Regions from separate parts of the Homo sapiens genome. Here region 2 is linked to region 1. The links are contacts of gene promoters, found by promoter capture Hi-C in human tissues and cell types (Jung and others, 2019). All regions are on one chromosome and are shown on one strand. The core of a region is centred on a gene start or on the middle of the fragment in contact, and the rest is flanking DNA. Distances in the headings are between cores, read along the strand shown. Region 1 holds the start of DHX8 (DEAH-box helicase 8). Region 2 has its middle 44 kb from the start of LINC00910.

Region 1 (3,409 bases), core at 615-3,114:
AATTAATTGAGATCTTTAGCTATAAATAAACTAAAAGATTATGAAGTTTATACTTCGCTCTATTTTTGTACACAAATGAAGTTAACATCAAAACAATTAAACACTGGGGGTTAATGTCAATAACTTTTTTGTTTCTTCTAAAAGGCCAAGGTATTAGGAGTTAAAATGAAAACAGAGAGAAAGGTAAGCTCCCTGAAAGCAGAAATCTGTCTTGTTCTCTGTGGTATGCCTAGCCCCCAGCTCAATATTTGCTGAATAAAGGAAACATATTAACGAGATAGCAAAACCGACGAAATTATCACCTCATTATCAACTAAAAGAGAAGAATCCTGCGGGAAAAGTTATATAGGACAGACACATCTTGGCTGGGAGGCAAGAGAAAAAAGTAAACTAAAATATACTGGCTGCAGGGCATCTTCCTAAATGCTATATGGTGACCCTGTGAAGACATCGTCCCACTTCACAGATGAGAAAAACAGCTTCAGAGAAACTATGAATCTTACCAAAGGTCACTCGTCTAACTTCCCTAACCCCTCCTGTCACCTGCCCCTTCCCTTCCATCCCTCCGGTTGATGACTTTATCTTCATTTAGGAAACTGAAGAGTGGGCTGGAACTCTCTCACTCATCTTCCCACCACCAATCTCTAAACTCATCTGAATCTGCAACTGTATTCTCTGTCCTCGCTCCTGTTACAACTGAAGAAGCCTTGCTGTACGTACCAAAGGTCAATCCATCCATTGGTTGCCCTTGATCCCATCCATCCTCTGTACCTTCATAAAGGCTCCATCTGTCTATGGCTTTAGCTTTAGGACCCTAGCCTTTTCTAATTCCTCAGTTTCGGCTCCCCAGATGTAGTTTGCCCCAAAACATCTAGTGACTGGTGTTTAAGACATAGTACAGGACGCAATGGCTCACGCCTGTAATCCCAACACTTTGGGAGGCCGAGGGAAGAGGACTGCTTGAGCCCAGAAGTTCGAGACCAGCCTGGGCAATACAGTGAGACCCCCGTCTCTACAAAAAATTTAAAAATGAGTCGAGCTTGGTGGCGCCCGCCTGTAGTCCCAGCTACTCGGGAGGCTGAGGTGGGAGGACTGCTTGAGCCCAGGAGGTGGAGGCTGCAGTGAGCCGAGATCGTGCCACTGCACTCCAGCCCGGGAAACAGAGCGAGGCCCTGCCTCAAAAAAGAGTACAGGATGAACGGTCAAAGAACACAGTTAAAAGCACAGACGCTAACTACTATGTCACAGAGTGGCGTGAAGACCAAATAAAATAATGTCAATAAAGAGCTGAGCATCGCATCTAGCACATAGTGAGCACCCAATAAACGTCAGCCATCATCGTCGTCATCGCAGCATCTGCTGCTGTTGTTGTTAAACATGTTTAATTGAGGCTGAAAAAACAAACAAAAAACAATCAAGCAGAGATGACCGCCCCGGGCTTCACTGACAGCTCTGGGAAAGTTTCTAAAGTTTCTCGAGGGCTCTCAAGCCGAGGCCACGGCAGCGTGTACCCTGGGCACCGGTGTCTGCGACAGAGAGAGACAGATTCACACGAACATACTTTCGGTCCATCAACCACCTTTCTCCTTCCTCCTTCCTCCTTCCGCTTCCCTCAATCCCAAACTGAGGTCCCAGGGACCTCCCCGAGCTCACCAAGGTCCTTGTCGTTGATCCCCAAGTGATTGTCCAGCTCAGTGCAAACCTTTGACACCAAAGACAGGTACTCGAGTTTGGCAAGTTCTTCCGCGGGGCCTGGCTCCGACCCGATTAAGGCTCCCGCCATGGCTACAGCCACAGCCATGGCTATAGCTTGCCCAGAACCTCCTTCCTCACAGCCGGCGCTCAGAGCTACTCCGGCCGGGTTCCAGCTTTCACTTCCGGGTCAGCGCGCGTCCCCTTTGTTTACGGTAAATTGAAAATTTGAGGAACGAATCAAGTCCCAACAGGATGGATCATAGAGATCAAACAGGAAGTGCTTAAGGAAGGGACAACTAGAGTGGGTTACTCTGCACGCCGATCTGCGCCCTCTACAGGCGAGAAAAATCTCCGCCCGCCCTCAGGCCTGGAAACGTTCACTCAGCGCGCTCCCGCCCTGGGTCGGCAGAGGGCGACCCCGGCCTGCACAAGAGGCGCCGGGAGGCAACCGCAAAACAGCCTGCGCCTGCGCTTTAGAACACTTGAAAAAGGAATCTTAATGCACGTCTGGAAAAAGACAAACTTGCTTTACTGTGGATCCGCAAATTCCCGGCCTCACTTCTTTGTGGTTCCTGTCGTCCGATCTCAAGTGACCCTTGACAAGCCAGTAGGCAGTAGATTGCCTTCTCTTGTTTTACACACGAAGAAACTGGCACTTCCACTGCCAGCTGGCTGCTTGGGCAAATCAATCTCTGGGGCCTTAGTTTTCTCATCTGTAAACTAGAATAATGTTGCTCTACCCTAAATGGAATAACTGCAAGGAGTGTGACACAGAGTAGGCACACCGCAAATGACAGTTACTGTTAATATCACAAGGCTAGGCCGGGTGCAGTGGCTCACGCCTGTAATGCCAGCACTTTGGGAGGCCGAGGCTGGTGGATCACTTGAGGTCAGGAGTTCCAGACCAGCCTGGCCAACGTGGCGAAACTCCATCTCTACTAAAAATAGAAAACTTAGCCGGGCGTGGTGGTGGTGGGCGCCTGTAGTCCCAGCTACTCGGGAGGCTGAGGCACAAGAATCGCTTGAACCCAGGAGGCAGAGGTTGGAGTGACCTGAGTTCACACCACTACACTCCAGCATGGGCGACAGAGTGAGACTTTGTCTCAAAAAAAAAAAAAAAAAAATTCAAGGCTGAGATGATGGTCACAGAACTGGCCTCTGGTCTGTCAAGCACAGATCCCCTTAGTCTGGGAACCCACAGAGCCAGCTGCCTCCACTCTTGTGAAAACCTGCTTTTCAATCCCCAGTTTTCCTGTGTCCTCTCAGAACTTATTCCCCCAGGGGCTGGGCACTGTGGCTCACCCCTGTAATCCCAGCACTTTGGGAGGCCGAGACGGGCGGATCACTTGAGGTCAGGAGTTCAAGACCACTCTGGCCAACATGGTGAAACCTCGTCTGTACTAAAAATACAAAAATTAGCTGGGCGTGATGGTATGTGCCTGTAGTCCCAGCTACTAGGGAGGCTGAGGCGGGAGAATTGCTTGAACCTGGGAGGTGGATGTTGCAGTGAGCTGAGATCTCGCCACTGCACTCTAGCCTGTGCGACAGAGTGAGACTCCGTCTCAAACAAACAAAACACACACACAAAAACAACAACAAACCTTATTCCCCCAAATATCAGCTGTGCTGTAAGTCCAAGGTCATAAGCTCAGGTCTCCCAACTTCTGCTTCAGGTCTTTTTTACCTTTGTGGCAACCTTAATGTGGGATGGGGA
Region 2 (3,771 bases), core at 710-3,209, 140 kb after region 1:
TCTTGTAATTTTACACCCTCCAGTACCTGCCACCCCAGGGTCACAAAATCACCCACAGCCCATTCATCCTGCTCAGCAGGCGGCTGATCCTGCAGCTCATCAAGATCAACAGCCTGATAATCAAGCCCCTCAGCCGGACAATCAGGCTGCTCAGGGAAATAATCAGGCTCCACAACTGCCTTCCGCTGGGGCACAGCCAGTACCTGGTATTCCAGCAGTTCAGACAGTAGTTCAACCTGACCCCATACTTCTAGCTCAGGTTCAGCTACGCCCTGCTCCTTGGGAAAGTTTTTCTAAATTCCTCAAAGATTTCAAGGAATCAGTAAAACAATACAGCATCAACTCTCCTTTTGTCCGTTCCACATTAAAAGCCCTAGCAGAAGATAAATAAACGTTTGGTGCCCTATGACTGGGAGATTTTAGCAAAGTCAGTCTTATCTATTTTTTTTTATTTTTATAAGTTTTTATTTAAAAGATTCCCTTTTTAATCTGTTCCAAAGTGTTGGAAGCTGAACTATACAAGTTCCTGCCACCCATCCTTCCAGTACAGTTTTATGAGGACATACTTTTTAAATGGAAAAATAACAGGAGGACCCTCTAACTGAAACCAGGTAGGCCCAGAGTGAGCTCCTCAGGCCCCTGTGGCAGCCTGGCCAAAGCTGGCCTTTATGGAGCCAGTGCGTGGAGAAGTCTGGGGAACCGGGGCCCTCCCTCTTGTGAGGAAAGGGTTGAGCAAACTCATGTTCTCTTTAGTGAAATGGTCCAAATTCAGATCCAAAAACCTCCATTATGGCATTCCCTGGCACTCTTCTTATACTTTATACATTGAAGGCAGCTCCCTCTTTTATGGCCAGTATAAGCAGGCAAAGAAACAAAGGAATATAGATACATATATGTGTATATATATATATTTTATATAGGTAAAATATATACATATTTTATATATGTATATATACATATTTGGGGGTAGGGAAAGGAGAGGAGGGTCATGTAAACCTAAACAGTCATCACATTACCCCAAATGAGCCTGACTTTGACAAAAAGATAATAAATAACTCCTGGGGGTTAAGTGACAACATGGGTGCAGCAAGAAGGGAAAGGGCACAAATTTAACTATTAAATACACTTTGATATTTGTTTGGCAGAGTTCAGGCCAACCCCAGGCTTCTGCCCTTGCCAGACAAGTAAGCTGATGATATTCAAAGAAAAAAATAAAAATATTAAAAAAAAAAAAATTCAAGCAGAGCTCCATACCACAGTTTTCCTTCAAGTCAGTTGGCCGGCAGGCAGTTTCCCGACCACCAGGAACAGAAACTTTGGCTCCAAGGCAAATGAAACAAACAAACAAAAAAAAGTATTTCCACTTACAACATGAAAATACAGAAACTTCATCAAAGAAAGAAAACTATCAAAGAAGTCTACTTCCAGCAAAACTGAGGTAGCACTGCTTTCTCCGCATTCAATGCTTAAGTGGTTCTCAGTACAACGTGTTCTTAAAAAATGCTCACTTGACTGAAAGTCAGTCTTATCTAAATCCCAATATTTACAATTCAGGACTTGGTGGGTTGATGCTGTCCAGGAACACATTCATCTTAATCAGGGCTCCAATCCTCCTGTTAACGTTACAGCTGACCAGTTACTGGGAATGGGTCAGTGGGCTACAATTAGAAACCAAACTATAGTAAATGATGTGGTTATTGAACAACTGTGGAAATGTTGCTTAGATGCTTGGGAAAAGATTCAAGATGATGGCAAAGTATGCCCATCGTTTGCGGCAGTCAGACAGGGACAACATGAACCCTACCCAGACTTTATTGCCCATCTCCAAGACGCAGCAGAAAAAGCTATCCCTGAGCCACGGCCATTGACTTGTTGTAGAACTCATGGCTTATGAACAAGCAAATCCAGATTGTCAGGTGGCTATTCGCCCTGTTAAAGGTAAAATTCCATGGGTGTGTGTGTGTGTGTGTGTGATATACTCACCTCCTACATTAAAGCCTGTGAAGGTGTGGGAGGAACTCTGCACACAGCAATGATCATGGCACAAGCCATGGCCTCTATTCGAACGCCTGGACAATTCACTGGCCAATGCTTTATATGCGGCCAGACAGGACATGCTAAAAGAAATTGTCCCCAGTGTACATGTTGCCATTCTTTTCAACCCCACCACCACCAACAACAAAAAATTTTTCAACAACAGAAAGTCCCACCTTCTACTTTATGCCCACGATGCCAAAAGATAAATCACTGAGCTGCTCAATGCCATTCGAGATTTGATATTGATGGTAATCCTTTACAGTCGCTTAACAACCAGGGAAATGGAACGAGGGGCTGGCCCCAGGCCCCTCTAAACAATGGCGCATTCCTCAACTCCCAGCCCCTGGCATCCAGCCAGATGGGTGCCTTCCCAGTCCAATCGATTCAACCTCCACCCCAATTCCCACTTCAGCAATTTGTGCCACAGGATCTAATGGCCCAGCCCCAGCAGGAATCTCAGTACAGTGTTTGTCTCCTGCCACTGCAGGCTCAGCAGCAATAGATCTCTCTTGTACCAGAGACATTTCTCTGTTGCTTGGATAGCTGCCTATTGCTGTTCCTAGAGGTGTTTTTGGTCCCTTACTGACTGGCAGTGTCAGTTTGCTACTTGGTCATTCAAGTCTAAATTTAAAAGGTGCTCAAGTACATACTGGTGTAATTGATTCTGACTATTCAGGTGAAATTCATATTGTCATTAGCTCTGCAGTCCCTTGGAATGTGGCAGCTGGGGACGGCATTGCTCAACTTCTGATACTCCCTTACATTCCTTTAGGATCCAGTTCTTGTATGAGAAACAGAGATTTTGGTAGCACAGATTATCAAGGCAAAGTGGCTTATTGGGCCAGCAAAATTTCTGACACTCATCCTGTGTGCTCTGTGCATATTCAAGGGAGGAAGTTTGAGGGAATGATTGATACGGGTGCTGATGTTTCTATTATTGCTTTACATCAATGGCCCCAACACTGGCTAAAGGAGCATATGTCCACAGCATTAGTTGGTGTTGGTGACGCTTCAGAAGTATATGCAAGCTCCACAATTTTACATTGCATGGGCCCTGAAGGACAAATGGGAACTATCTGCCCCCTCATTACACCCATTCCTGTTAACCTGTGGGGAAAAGATCTTTTATATCAATGGGGGACATAGATTTCTTTTCCACAAGGCAGTTACAGCCAGCAAAGTAAAGACATTATGACAAAAATGGGATTTGTTCAAGATATGGGCTTGGGAAAATCAGCACAAGGCATCACCGAGCCTATTATACCTACCCATAAACCAGATTCTACAGGACTTGGTTATTCTTTTTAGAAGTGGTCACTATCAAGTCTCCAGATCCCATCCCTTTGACTTGGAAAACTCAGAAACTGGTTTGGGTAGATCAGTGGCTGCTCCCAAAAAATAAGCTGGAGGCACTTCATATTTTGGTTCTTGAACAGTTAAAATTGGGTCAAACCCTCTTTTTCTCCCTGGAATTCACCTGCCTTTGTTATCCAAAAGAGGTCTGGTAAGTGGAGAATGCTTACTGATCTTAGGGCAGCAAATGCTGTCCTTCAACCTATGGGGACATTACAGCCTGGTTTGCCCTCCCCCACTATGATTCCCAAGTATTGGCCACTTATCATCATTGACCTTAAAGATTGCTTGTTTTACATTCCTCTGGCCCCTCAGGACTTTGAAAAATTTGCTTTCACAGTTCCAACCCTTAACAACATCCCTCCTGCAGCACATTACCAT

Evidence for each region. The method cuts DNA at HindIII sites, captures the fragments that hold promoters and counts their contacts. A contact is called where the count stands out against the background at its distance.
Region 2: a fragment that was not itself captured here is called in contact with the fragment with the promoter of DHX8 in region 1 in 1 of the 25 tissues and cell types used here (bladder).

The regions. Positions count from the first base shown.
Region 1 is chr17:43,482,430-43,485,838 of GRCh38, reverse strand. It overlaps DHX8 (DEAH-box helicase 8), which reads right to left and starts at 1,864. Exons shown (of 23, transcript NM_004941.3): 1 at 1,654-1,864. The coding sequence starts at 1,801. RefSeq lists enhancers at 1,600-2,029, 1,329-2,171. The HindIII fragment of the contact is 21,666 bases long and covers 1-3,409 here.
Region 2 is chr17:43,343,507-43,347,277 of GRCh38, reverse strand. No RefSeq gene overlaps it. Among named protein-coding and RNA genes, the nearest start is that of LINC00910, 44 kb to the left of the region's middle. The HindIII fragment of the contact is 8,528 bases long and covers 1-3,771 here.